Regions from separate parts of the Homo sapiens genome. Here regions 1, 2, 4 and 5 are each linked to region 3. Evidence: promoter capture Hi-C in 16 types of primary human blood cells and fetal thymus (Javierre and others, 2016). All regions are on one chromosome and are shown on one strand. The core of a region is centred on a gene start or on the middle of the fragment in contact, and the rest is flanking DNA. Distances in the headings are between cores, read along the strand shown.

The links. Contacts are between HindIII fragments. The CHiCAGO score rates a contact against its expected background, and 5 or more counts as called.
Region 1: a fragment that was not itself captured here is called in contact with the fragment with the promoter of ATPSCKMT in region 3 in 1 of 17 cell types (endothelial precursors); the score reaches 8.0 in endothelial precursors.
Region 2: a fragment that was not itself captured here is called in contact with the fragment with the promoter of ATPSCKMT in region 3 in 11 of 17 cell types (naive CD8 T cells, activated CD4 T cells, megakaryocytes and 8 more); the score reaches 15.2 in naive CD8 T cells.
Region 4: a contact is called between a fragment that was not itself captured here and the fragment with the promoter of ATPSCKMT in region 3, in 2 of 17 cell types (endothelial precursors and activated CD4 T cells). The highest score is 14.0, in endothelial precursors.
Region 5: a fragment that was not itself captured here is called in contact with the fragment with the promoter of ATPSCKMT in region 3 in 1 of 17 cell types (endothelial precursors); the score reaches 8.0 in endothelial precursors.

The regions. Positions count from the first base shown.
Region 1 is chr5:7,914,495-7,917,194 of GRCh38, reverse strand. No RefSeq gene overlaps it. Among named protein-coding and RNA genes, the nearest start is that of MTRR, 47 kb to the right of the region's middle. The HindIII fragment of the contact is 1,623 bases long and covers 616-2,238 here.
Region 2 is chr5:7,878,982-7,881,681 of GRCh38, reverse strand. The region is part of intron 5 of MTRR (5-methyltetrahydrofolate-homocysteine methyltransferase reductase); the gene reads right to left. Among named protein-coding and RNA genes, the nearest start is that of MTRR, 11 kb to the right of the region's middle. The HindIII fragment of the contact is 2,641 bases long and covers 1-2,578 here.
Region 3 is chr5:10,248,569-10,251,268 of GRCh38, reverse strand. It overlaps ATPSCKMT (ATP synthase c subunit lysine N-methyltransferase), which reads left to right and starts at 1,381. Exons shown (of 5, transcript NM_199133.4): 1 at 1,381-1,411. The coding sequence starts at 1,396. CCT5 (chaperonin containing TCP1 subunit 5) reads right to left here and starts at 989. Exons shown (of 11, transcript NM_012073.5): 1 at 824-989. The coding sequence starts at 928. RefSeq lists silencers at 1-61, 392-531, 602-671, 1,422-1,481, 1,492-1,611. The HindIII fragment of the contact is 6,282 bases long and covers 1,020-2,700 here.
Region 4 is chr5:7,898,155-7,900,854 of GRCh38, reverse strand. MTRR (5-methyltetrahydrofolate-homocysteine methyltransferase reductase) reads right to left here. Exons shown (of 15, transcript NM_002454.3): 15 at 1-941. The coding sequence ends at 797. Among named protein-coding and RNA genes, the nearest start is that of MTRR, 30 kb to the right of the region's middle. The HindIII fragment of the contact is 1,091 bases long and covers 771-1,861 here.
Region 5 is chr5:7,934,835-7,937,534 of GRCh38, reverse strand. No RefSeq gene overlaps it. Among named protein-coding and RNA genes, the nearest start is that of MTRR, 67 kb to the right of the region's middle. The HindIII fragment of the contact is 1,073 bases long and covers 718-1,790 here.

The sequences.
Region 1 (2,700 bases), core at 178-2,677, 2.3 Mb after region 3:
ACCCAGAATGTGGTAGTTTGTTATGACAGTCCTCACAAACTAATACAATAACTTACCTAAACTTTCAGAATTCAACAACATTTTCTCTTTCCAATGTCCATTAAACATATTTCTGTTAAGGGAAAGTGAGGAATCGATCAAATATTTAACAAAAGTTATAATACTAGTAATAAGAAGGCAGCCATTTGCCTAGAACTTTATAATTTTTGAAAACACTCTCCCATATCTTTTTTGTCTCAATAGAACATTTGCTGGTAGTTTTTCTTTTTTCTCAATCTACACTGAGTTAACACTTGTATAACCCGCATACTAAGAAACAGAAGACTATAGATGGAAAGCTCCAGTTCATACAGCTTGGCTGCCTGGATGTACAGAGGAAGATCAAGGTCTTGTCAAGATGATGTCACTTGTTGAGATGGTGTGTGAATGAATGGCTTGTCAAGATGGTGTAAGAACCAGCCTTGGAACCAACTTTGTGATTCGAGTTTCCTTGGTTTAAAAAAAAAAAAATCCAATGACATTTCTATGGAAATAAGCCTAAGTGGGCACGTTCCCACTCATTCTAGGATCATGCACAATAATGATGTCACACCAGGAAGCTGAGGCTTGTAAGCTTCCCTGTAGTATTTCAAACAGTATTTATTCCCATTCATTTTCCAATACCTACACCAGTTTGTAAGTGATCTAGCCTAATGGTTGCCCTCGTCCAAACTGCCCTTCGAGTTTTATAATGAATTCTCCCAAGAAAAGCAGCTTTGCGGTGATGTGGAGAGACAAGCTGTTTGAAATGTGAGCAGGATGAGGGAGCCCTAGAGGTTTATGTGGGCATTTGTAATAGAATCCAGTTCCTAAATCATTCTTACATGTGTGGTTCAAAGTAAACATTACACAATACCGCTATCATTTCCAATTTAACTGCCCTGAGGGCTAAATTCTGAAAGCCAAGGAAATAGATACTTTTATTATTAAGGTAAATTGAAGAAGACCTTCATATACCTCTTCAATTTTATGTTTGCTCCCTTTGCAGAACTGCCTGCTTTGGGAACCTTTTCACTTATTTCTTCCTTCATCTCCTAGACTCATTTCCATTTGTCTGGAGGCTGGCCTTTTATTCCACTGAGATCCCAGACACTTGCAGGATAATTACAACCAGCAAAAAGAACCTCATCTTCATGGACAGGGCTTTGTTTGCTGACACCTCCCTGAAGGCTCCTTCCCTCTCCTATTCTAACCCCTGCCTCTGCCTTGACCCTGCCACAGCTTGGGATGGGGCCTTGTCACCTTCATCCCTTCTACCTGGGCTTCCCACAGTCATAGGGTCTTTAACCCAAAGCCTCACGATCATATGCGTACTGTTCTGTGACTATTGATAACTGCATTTGACGTCTGTCAGAGGGAAAGCTCTGTGAGGAGAGGTACTACACTCACCACAGTGACCTCAGCTCCCAGCATAGGCCTGGCACACACTAGAAATACCTATGGATGATTGTGGAATGATGAGGAAACAAGAGTTGGCTAATTGATCTTCCTTGCTGCCAGAGCACACCATTAGTTCATTCCATTTCTCCAGCAAGCATTTTTGGGTAACCCACAGTGCACCACTCACAGGGATTATGAAGATGCAGTGCTATAGTCCAGGCCAAAAAAGAACTTAGAGCTCAGTGAGGTGGCCTCCTGTGAACAGTGTCAACCCAGTATGGTCACTGGCTAGTGGTCTGGTGACAACAACAGGCAGTGGTTAAATCAGCCAGGAACCAAATGAGCCAGAATCATGGCAGCTACACCAAGCAACCTCTCCTGGGCTGAGTTTTGAGGGATGGGAAAATTGGCCAAGTAGACAAGCAGAAATGGGGAATAGGAGTCATTCCAAACATTGGTTACAGTATTTAAAAGGAATAGAAGCCTGAAAGTGTGGCATATTTTTCAGGAGAAACAAGCAGCTTTACGTTGCTGAAGTCTCAATAAATTGAGACTAGGAGTGGTGATAAGAGTGCCTGAAGAGACAGACAAGGACAGAAATTCTCAATATGTTTACAGTGTGACTTATCTTAACTATTATCTAATAATTTATCAATTAATGTAATTGTCTCCCACCCTAGACTGTGCATTCTTTGTGGAGCACCTAGCAAGGAACAGGTTTGTAACAGGGGCTCACTGAGCATTTGTTGGATGGAGGGATGGACGGATGGATGGATGGATACATATGTATATAACACTAAAAACACACAGGTCCAAGCTTTTTAGCTGAAGCTCCCAATAATGTTTCTGTTTGTACAGCTACATGGCTCCTCCTAAGGTGCCTCTGCCTGATTTTCTCCACCCTCAGGAGACTCTTCCCCTGCCCACCCAGCTTTCCCACCCAAGCTGATGCCAAGAGGCTGGAAAAGGTCACCAAGCTGCTCTTTCCCAGCCCCAGTAGAAGGATTCTTTCAAGTGGGGCTGAAAGGCAGCCCATGAGTGGCTTCACTGGATTCAGGTCCACGATTGTAAACTGGAATAAGGGCAGGTGCCATGGGAATGTGAGGGTGCCTCCACCCAACTTTGCCCCCTGGCATTACAGATTTGATTCCTCATTGCCATCAATAGAATGTGCAGATTCCTCCAGATGCTTGGGCGCTGTCCTGGTGCAGGAGTGCGAAGGGTCCCTGTCCATCTCAGAGACACTCCATTAACCTGATCCGTTGGTTGCCTTTATTTTGG
Region 2 (2,700 bases), core at 9-2,508, 2.4 Mb after region 3:
CTCAGGAGCTTAGAAAGACACAGTCATCTCATGCAGCCCATGACAGTGAAGGCAGAGAAAGCCAAGGACTAACTGGGAAAAAAAATCTTGAATACTCAGATTCCCTTAAAAATCTTGACTACCCAGAACGCCTTAAAAATCTTGACTACCCAGATTCCCTTAAAAATCTTCCTACCCAGATTCCCTTGAACTCTTTGAGCCTGCAGATGTGGCCAGTCCCTCCCATGAAGAGTAAGAACTCCCTTCTCGCATCTGGATGGTGTAAGGACCTCTGCCCACAGCACATGCCTGTACCCCCACTACCACACCCCATCCCCTCTTCTGGTTGCTAGACCAATAACTGGGGTTGTTGCGACACACTCGGCCACTAAAGCACTGGGCTAGCTAAGGAAGGTAAGGGACTAACCCCTAAGAAAGTATACGACAGAGCACTATGCCCCCACAGGAGCTAGGAGAGAATGCACACAACACAGCTGAGGTCCTAAATTGAGGAGGGCAGAACACAGATGTAAAAAATGGGCAGCCCACAAAGGCACTGGATCAATCCTTACAATGAAAAGAAATCAAGGAGGCATGTAAAAGGAGCTGTAGGCCGCTGCTCCAATAAAAACGATCCTTTGCCCTGTTTCCAGACCTGCAACCCACTGACTGTAGGAGAGAAGAGGTCCCTAGGAGGAGGGACTGTGAGACACTATAGAAACTGTACTTGACAATGGCTTCTGCAGTCCTTCTCCCAAAGGGGAAATGTACACTGGGCTAAGGGGAATGTGCAAACATTCCAGGGTCTGTTAAGAGGGGGTTCAAATGAATGTTGTTACCCAGGGACCCAAAGCATCAGCATAGCTCATCTATGACAGCAAGGCACATGGGGGCCAGGCGGTAAATGGCGTCCTGGCCCAGGACCTCCAGTGGCCACTCAGCAGCTGGCACAGGGCAACACCGAATTATTGGCCTATGACGTTAAGATCTATCATCATGGGGAGGGCCAAGAAGAAGTCTCTGAATTTGACGCCATCCTCCTCCCTAAACACCAAGATAGAACAAGAGAAACAAAATAGCATCCTGAGAGAAATGACATCCTTAAAAAGCTGGAGGACACAGGGGATGGTCTCTATCGTATCTCCATTTAATTCACCAGTTTGACCACTGCAAAAACCACATAAATCCTGGGGGATGACACTGAACTACTGGAAACTCAAACAAGAAACAGGTCCACTGTAACCTCCGTGCAAGCTGGTTTTCCTTAACAAAGTAGACTAGCATGGCCTCAGGTACACGGACAATGATTTAGTCAAAGTGCTCCTTCCCAACCCTATCACTAAAGAGGATCAGAAACAGTTCACTTTGCGCTGGAACAATGTATAAATTTACAATTATGCCCCAGGGCTATCATAAGTCCTGCCTGCTGTTATAAGAGTCTGAATAAATGTGGAACACCTGCAAAGCACCACACTAGCCTACTCTATCAGGGGCATCGTGCTATCAGACTGAATGAGCAACGAGGAGTAGCCAGGACAGTGCGGTCTTTGGTAAGACCCATGCCCTATGCAATTAAAGGGCCTGCAGTGCCAGCACAATTTTTAGGGTTCTAACAGTTTGGTGCACGTCAGGACATCCCCTCCCAAGTGAAGGCCACACTAGTGCACCTTGTACCTCACTTCTAGAGAGAAGCAGAACCACTGCTAAGTCTCTTCAGGATCTGTGGGTAGCACATTCCATACCTGGGAGGACTGCTGAGACCCAAATACCAGGTGACAGAAAAGGCCACCAGCTTTGCGTGGGGCCCAGAGCAGGAGAGGGCTCTACAGCAGATCCAAGTGACAGTGCTCGTTAACAGGTCCTGCCGCTCTACCACACAACCCAGAAGACCCTCTGGTTATTAGAGGTAATACTTCCACATGGCAGAAAGGTACCATATGGAGAGGAGCTGACTGAGGCCTTTGTTGAGACTGCATCGCAGCTCAGCTTCTCACTGTGCCCAATCCTGCTTCCAACCCCTCTGTGCCTCAAGGCAATGGTCCCAAGAGGATGCCCTACAAAACATTCTTTTTTTCCCAATTCTTTACTCTCTCAGTATATTATTTCATATTTATATTGTCTCTCTTAAGTACTTCAGATTTGTTAAATCTTTTAACTACATTATTAACAACTCAAGCCTATTTAATGACACTTTCTATTAAGAAAAAACCCAGAAACTTTTTTTTTTTTTTTTTTTTTTTGAGACGGAGTCTTACTCTGTCGCTCAGGCTGGAGTGCAGTGGCGCAATCTTGGCTCACTGCAACCTCCGCCTCCCGGAAAAAACCCATAAACTCTTAACAGATCTTCCGGCTAATTTAAAACTCCTAGTCAGATTAATGATTAATCTCTATCCCCGCTGCCATGAACTGATCCTGTCTGTGGTGCAACACTGCACTCTGCTCCCACCAGTCCAGGCATAAGTTGTGTCTGTTCCCAAACCAGACTGAGATACACTTACTGCAATTATCTCACTTAAACAATTCACAAAATAATGAAGTACAAGTGCAAAAACAATAGCCCATAGTTGTTTATACACAAAATCATACTTACATGAAAGCTTTAGAAAGACATTATAAAAGATGCTAAAAAAAATTGCTATCATACCAGGTGTTTACAAACAGTGCTAATATACAAGAAAGATGCTGCATCCAAATTATTTCTTAAATGTCTAAATCTGTCTT
Region 3 (2,700 bases), core at 132-2,631:
CCCTTCTTCCCCAAAGATAACGTCGTATTTTCCATGTTGGGCATTCAATAGCTTCCACCTTCGGGAACTATTGTAAGTTAAAGAAGTCAGTGCTCCATTAAAACCGGATGGCTCTTCCATTCTACAACGTGCCATGCGCATTCTTGCCCAAGCCTTTACTTCTACCGTTTCCTCTCCCTAGAATGCTACCTCTCACCCCGATCTAAAGCTGTCCTCCAGCACCACGCTTATGTGCACCCTCTCCGTAGCTGTCCTTCTCACTGCACACCACCTTGTATTACGGTTATGTGCGTCCGTTTTTCACTCTTCGCTATTTTTCCTCAAGGGTGGGCAAAAAAGCACTCAGAAATGAAATACCCTGTTAAGTGACCACACCTTTACGAGTGACAAAGAAAACGGAAGGGCCGTTGCGGGTGGACCAGCGAAAGGTTAAGCAGCAGCGCCTTAACCGACAGGTGACAGAGCATCTCCCCGGCGCCCTCCCACTGGAGCGCAGTCCCACGCGGCCGTCAGGCTGGAGGAGCCGGGCGGGGAGGCGGTCCCGCTTTGCTCCCGCGGGCGACCGGACTGAGCGGCCCCACCCAGCTCCGAAGGGCGCTGGCGGCCCAGCCTGGCTGGCCCCCACATTCCGAGCCCAGGATTAGGCGCCGGCGTCTCCCGAGCTCAGTAAGCGGGCTGAGCGGCCGGAGACCGCAGGGAGACGGAGATTCTCGACCTTTCCGGGGAGCACATGGCAGAGCCGCTCCTCAACTCGCGCAGGCGCAGAGCCACGGCCTCGGCCACCTCCCCTTAGCCCACCGCGAGCAGGTCCCTGTGCCATTACCTTGAGGGCCTCAAGTCCCATAAGACGGGACTTGCGGTCCTGATCCTTGATGATGAGGAAAGGGCGCCCATATTCATCGAAGGCGAGGGTCCCCATGGACGCCATGGTGCAACAACCGGAATTACTTCCCCCCAACCGGCGGAGACCGCTACGGAAGCGAGAATGCACTTCCCTTTCTCGGGAGGGCCCAAAAGCTTGCGCACGCGCAGCACAAGACGCGCGGGACTTATGTTTCTACTGAGACTAATTTCACGCCAGACAGTATCTTCTGGAATCGGCGGCCTTCGGGAACTTCTATTATCCAGGAAGCCGGGGAGGGGGAGGTTTGAAGACACTTAGTGGAAATCTTAGGACACACAAGTCAAGAGCAGATTGAATTTGTCATTTTTTAAAACGTTACCACTGATAGTTTCTCGATAGTGGGTCCCAAGGAGGAATTCATTGACTTAAAGCACTATTTCTTTATTTCTTCGCACTCCGGCTCCGAGAAGATGGTAGGACCCATTTCCGGTTTTTTTTTTTTTTTTTTTTTTTTTTTTTTTTTTTTTAAAAACGCTGTTGGAAATCTCGCGATGGAGGGAGGAGGAGGTGAGGCTGGAGCGGCTTGGCGGGTTCCTGGGGGCATGAGAAGGGGTGCGGGCGGGCCGGGGGCTCGCGGTCAGCTGAGGTCTCCACTGTCGAGGCGGTGACCGGGTGCGGGCGGCTGCTCTGGCCTCCAGCCTGGCCTTCGGTGACCAGAGCTCCTGGTCGCCGCGCGGTGCCCGCGCCGGTTCTGGCGATCCTTGTCGGCGGGCGCGTTTCCCCAGAGACTGTTCTAGGCTACTTAGTGCAAGTGACTCAGCCTTTGGCACGATCTTAAGGAATAGGGATAGTGGAGGCACACTGATGGATTGGAATCGCAGTTCTGCCGCTCTTCCTAGCTGTGGCTTTGAGGAAATCCCTTAACTTCTTTGTCCCTCGGGTTCCCTGTCTGCAAAGTGACGGTGGTAACAGTAGTGCCTACTCACAGGGCTGCTGTGAGATTCAAGGAGAACGGTGCCTGGCAAGCTGAACACAGTGTTGGTAAATAAATTAACATTTTGCACAAATGGTTCAGTAACTTGCCACTGGTATACAGCTAGTAAGAAACAGTTACACAGCCTGATGCAATGGGTCCCACACTCTTTTTTTTTTTTTTTTTTTTTGAGACAAGACTGTAGCCCGGGCTGGAGTGCAGTGGCGCGGTCTCGGCTCACTGCAGCCTCCGCCTCCCGGGTTCCAGTGATTCTCGTGCCTCAGCCTCCCAGGCAGCTGGGACTACAGGCACAGAACCACCACGCTCGCTAATTTTTGTATTTTTAGTAGAGACGGTGTTAACGCCGTAGTGGCCAGGCTGGTCTCGAACGGCTGACCTCAAGTGATGTACCCGTCTAGGTCTCCCCAAGTGTTGGGCCTGAGCCACCGCGGTGCCCGGCAGGTCTCACTCTTAAGCCCTGTATTATGCTGCCTCAGAAAGATCTTGGCAACCGCAGCTGTCCTCTAAATCTCTTATGCTGCCTTCCTCCCCGCCCTCCAAGATCATGACTTAATATTTGATAGGTTTAGATTTATTTGTTGAGGGTTTCCATCCTTGCTTCTCCCCTACTGCCATGGGCAGGGACTTAACTAATAAAGTTGTATTATTCCCAGACTTTATTAGGCACTCAATAAGTGCTGAAATGAATACATGCACTATAACATTTGACCCTGTCCTGAAACTCAAGAACAGACTTGGCGACTGTGTTCCCATCTACTCTGGGGCTGAGGCAGGAGGATGGGTGGAGCCCAGGAGTTCAGTTTACAGTGCGCTATAATCGCGCCACTGCACTCCATCCTGGGCGACAGAGCGAGATTCTGTC
Region 4 (2,700 bases), core at 67-2,566, 2.4 Mb after region 3:
AAAACTCAAAAATGTGCCAAGCAGCAGAAATAAAAGGAGTGAAAATAAAAAGGTTGTATCTTTCTATTAAAATATGTACGTACTGGTACCTGTAAATTGAATGCAAATGTCCCAAAATTCTGAAATTGTGACTTAAAAAAAAGTAATGGTGATAGATAAATCATATGCCAGAGTGAAATTTTAAAATACATTTCATATTTCCAGCATCATAAAAATAAATCCCTCTGTAGGCAATTATCCTAAAATATTTTTTATCAGAAATATAGCTTTAGTAACAAATAACCATTTGATAGTTACATAAACATATAACAGATATGCTCTACATGTGTAATTTAAGTACATTAATATGAGCATTCTTTATGGGTATACATCATATAAAAATAAATCATTTTCATACTTTTTTAAATGTTGGCACTGTAAGTCACAAGAATGAGCTACTCAGTCAGTCTCCCTATTTCAGGAAGCCTTTGCATGGAAGGACAGAGTCTCTGTGAAGTTCTCTGGGAAGTAAAGGAGGCGCTGATAGGGACTGAAGGCTGCCTTAGCTCAGAAGAGCTCAAGGCAACAGGGCAATTTGGGGAGAGTCACAGGCACAGGAAGGGCGTAGATAGAAGATACGTAAAATCAAATCAGGAAGTTTTGTTATATTGTTAAATGATCCAATCTCCACTCCATGTCCTTCAAGAAATGTTGAAAGAAAATTTTCTTTTGAAAATTTAAAGGTTTGGCACTAGTAAAGCTGACTTTTAGTACTTTCAGTCAAAAAAGCTTAATCCTCTTTCTTTAATTTCTGGTTTTATGACCAAATATCCTGAAGGTAGCGTTTTTCTTCTTTTAAAGTGGCCAGGGTTTTCATTGCTTCTAGTTTTTCAACTCCAACCTCTTTGCTTATTATTTGCACAAGGGCATCATGTACATCCTTGGCCATATTCTTTGCATCTCTAGAAAAGAAAATAATAAGATGACTGCTTACAAACAGGCATTTTTAGTAAATCCTCCTTAATTCACAAGTCTAATTCCTTTTGACTGTACCACCATAGTTCTTCCCTCCGTCTTCTCAGAACATCTCACACAGATCTCCCAGCCTCACTCATGCCCAGGCCAGGCCTTTGCCTACAGTGACTGTTCTAGGAGACAGAGCTGACCACACGGTTCTACAGCTCCCAATCCTCCACAGGCTCCAGGTCCCGACAGTAGGCCAAGGATTTCCTAGGTGTCAGAGAAGCATCTGAGGTCCTGCCTGGCTCCGACCCACCTGCTGGCTCACCCCTCATTCCCTGCCCTCCACTCTCAAAGCACACAGTAGACTCGTGCTCCTGAAGGGAACCAGATCTCTCGCACACTTCTAGGTCTTTATACACATACAGTTAGTAACAGACACCTTTATTGAGGACTTACTATGTGCCAGGTCCTTTTGAAGTGCTTCTACATCTTAACTCTTCAATTTACAAGAAGGGGGCGGTACCCCTCCTGGGTGCTCTTGCAGTCCTCTCTGGAACACTTCCGACGTTAGAAACGTCTGTTTATATGTAGCTTTCTCACCAGGGAGTAAGTTGTTTGAGGGTAGGAAGTGTAACTCACTTATCCTCTGATCCAGTTTGGATGTGTGCCCTCTCCAAATCTTTATGTTAAAATGTGGTTCCCAGTGTTAGAAGTGGGGCTTGGTGGGAGGCGTCTGGGTCATGGGGGCAGATGCCTCATGAATGGCTTGATGTTATGCTCGCTGTAATGAGTGAGTTCTCCCTCTGAGTTCCTGAGAGATCTGGCTATTTGAGTGTGTGGCACCTCCCCCTGCCTCTTGCTCCCTCTCTTGCCGTGTGAGGTGCCTGCTCCCCCTTTGCCTTCTGTCAGAGTGGAAGCTTCCTGGGGTCTTCACCAGAAGCAGGTGCCGGCACCATGTTTCCTCTACAGCCTAAACCGTGAGCCCATTAAATCTCTTTTCTTTAGTCTCAGGTATTCCTCAACAGAAAAACTAATATATCCTCGTATCTATCGACATCTGAATATGCCCCAAGCACTTAGCCAGCACTCAGGTGTTTGCTGAATGAAGCGAAGTGTCAGACAAGACTCTACTATGTTAGGAACTGAACATGTCCTGGCCCCTCACAGTGAAATTTCTTGAGAGGTGTCTGTCTCACCTGTCTCAAGAGGCTCTCCTCTCCACTATTCTCAGGGAACTTATACCCCAAGATCCTGCTCCGCTGTCTTCTCATTTGACTCATCAGCAGTACAGGCTCCCTCTCTGAAACAGCACCCTCTTGGCTTTGGGACAATTTTGCTTCTTCAGTGGCTGTTCCTTCTGTCTACTTTGTTCCTGCTTCCCTGACGGACGATCAATGTTCAAGTGCCCCAGGGTTTCCTTCTGAGCCCTCTGACCACTGCTATTAATGCTTCCAAGTGCATTTCACAAATGTGACAAAGTAAAGCACCAGTGATTGGGAGGAGCTATTTCTGGAATAATGTTTTAGGAGTCTGGACATTTAAGATATTCTCCAAGTTCTCAATGACCAGATATCTGTGATCTGTACAATGAACTCTGCCTCTACTATTTAGAGGTGCATCTCTAAAACTCCAGCCTGTATTTGACCACCGATGACACTGTCCTCGCCAAACAAAATGCAGATTAAATACTTCATTAAAAGCGAAGGAAAATGTAAACCAAAACAATGTCTAGAATTTCTGCCCTTTATTGACCTAAAG
Region 5 (2,700 bases), core at 5-2,504, 2.3 Mb after region 3:
TACAGGCGCCCACCACCACGCCCGGAAAATGTTTTTGTATTTTTAGTAGAGACAGGGTTTCACCATGTTAGCCAGGATGGTCTCGATCTCCTGACCTTGTGGTCTGCCCACCTTGGCTTCCCAAAGTGATGGGATGGAAGTAGGCATACCTTACATGGTCAGAGCAGGAGTAAGAGAGAGAGCAGGGAGCCACACACTTTTAAATAACCAGAGCTCCTGAGAGCCCCATCATGAGAACAGCACCAAGGGATTCATGAAGGACCCTCCCCCGCAACAATGATCCAGTCATCTCCCACCAGGCCCCAGGTCCAACCTTGGGGATTACAATTTGACACGAGATTTGGTGGGGACACAGAGCCAAACCATATCAATTTGACACCAACTCCTTATAAATAGAAAACCTGGCCAGCTTACCCTGTCACGCATTTCCTATTGCCATGGACATCACACATTTATCAAGGGTTGAATTTGGCTTTAGAGAACATCCGATGACAAAATGAAACAATTGTAAAGAGTTACATCACAAAATAGGGAACAGAGATTTAACACAGGAAGAGGCATTTAGAATGTCATGATATCTTCAGAAGTCACACGAAGTGGTATAACACAAGGGTGTTGTCACACATCTCAAAGAATTCTACATTAGACTGAATATACACATATTTTTGCAGGTGATATAGAGTTTCAGTGTTGAATCTAGATGCTCAGATTGAAGCTTAGTGTACTACCTTTAACAGTGCCTAAGTTCAAGTTTTATGTCGGTCAACAGTCACCGTACTGGGAGAAAGCAAAACTAAGGGTGAGCTCTTCTGTAAACTTGTGAAGCAGTTTGAAATTGACTTTAAAAAGTAAAAATCAGGCAATGTTCTAGGTGACTCTCATTTAGCCCTGCACCATATCTGTGCCAGCTGTCACCACCTGTGCCTGCTTTCTTCTGTACCTATGGACTTGTCTGAAGAGAAACAGTAACACATTCCAATTTCCATAGGCGTCATGCTGACATTCCTAGTGTAAAACACTGCAGTGGTTTTGGAAGTTGTTTGTTTATTCATTTGTTTGTTTTGGGAAGGTGTAAAATTAGAGTGACATCATATTCTGGGATGCTGAATACTGGATTAACCTGCTGTAACTAAATTCTAAGTACCCCCTGCAGCTCTTCTGGCACTACGGTGGAGAGTGCTGATGCGTTCATTGTTCATTTTCTATTCTGAATTCAAAGAGAATTATAAAATCAATTTTCTTTAAAGTACATCCAGTCAATCCTCTGCTTCTAATTGAAACCAGTAACATCCAGGTGAAATGATAAACCATCACCTTAAACAGGCACTAGCAAATTCTTGTAGGAAGTTGAGCTGTCTACACTTACAGAGATGAAAGCCAGCAATGTGATCTTCTTAGCAACAGGTTAGAAGGAAAGTCTGGATTTTCCAGAATCCAGATCTCCCTTCTATCTTGTGACTCTTTATCTAACACTGAGACATTTTACGTGTTTCACGTTACATAGCATTAAATTGCCAAACAGTTGAGAAGGAAAGGGAGCACATTTGAACTGCTGACCTCTGATTACTAATTAAATAAGAGGTGGAATACAATTTCTTGTCTGACCTACATTTTAGTTTAATAAATATCATAGAGTGGTTTTTTGCCACTAGCATTGCGAAAAGAATTTGTACTACTTTTCTCTTTTTTCGTGAAAGTGTTCTTGACTAGCTAGCTTTATCTTGTCAACATAGTACAATAAGTTTATCTGAGCTAGATCTGATATCAACTCTTATCATGAGTAATAAGCTTGATTTTTTAGTGGATGAGCTAATATGATCTTTAGAACAGACTATATGAAATGACATTTACTAGTAACTGTGCAGTTGATATCAGTCTCTAAATTAAGTTTCTATTAATCTCTAAGCCACTTTTCTACATGAACCATATTTTCAGGAGAGAGCAGGTTTTTATTCCTGATGTTTTTATATCAAATTTCTGAAAATAAACTATAGTAAAATTGAATAAAACATTGTTCCATCTGCTCAGAGAAATGTATAATTCATTTTAATATTAAGCTCATTTTAAAAAGTGTATAAAATATTGCTATTTTAGAAATCACTGCCAATACTTCGACATTGCAGAGAGGCAATCAGGCTGGGAGAATGCATCACCTTCATTGTTTTTCAGTATCCAAAAAGAAGAGAGTTAGGATTAGAACAAAAATTTACAGTTTCAAAGCAGATAATTTGAATGCTTTAGTTCAGTATTTATTGAGTTACAAAAATTTCTTAAATCAACTATAAATCTATTACTATTCATGGCCTGGATGGAGAAGCACAGCAGAAATAAATTCTAAAATAGTGCCCTGTCTGCAAATATTGTATCCAACATGACAATGCATTGTCCAATATTTAACATTACGGTCTGTGCATTTCTCAGGTCAAAGTGAATATTACCCTATTTCTCCCATTTCACACCCACTGATCAGAGAAGCAGGGGACTCAGAATGTTTTTCTGGTGTCTGACATAGATAATCTGCTGATTGGTAATCAAATATTGACTATGTTGTGTCCAGAGAAATCACCAAGTACACCATCAACAAATAGATGTACTGGACAGAACCAATGCAATCATTTTAAAAAGAATGACAAAGTTTTTGCACATGAGTTGATTTAAGGTTGCCATTGGAATACTCTACTTATGCAGAAATGTACTACT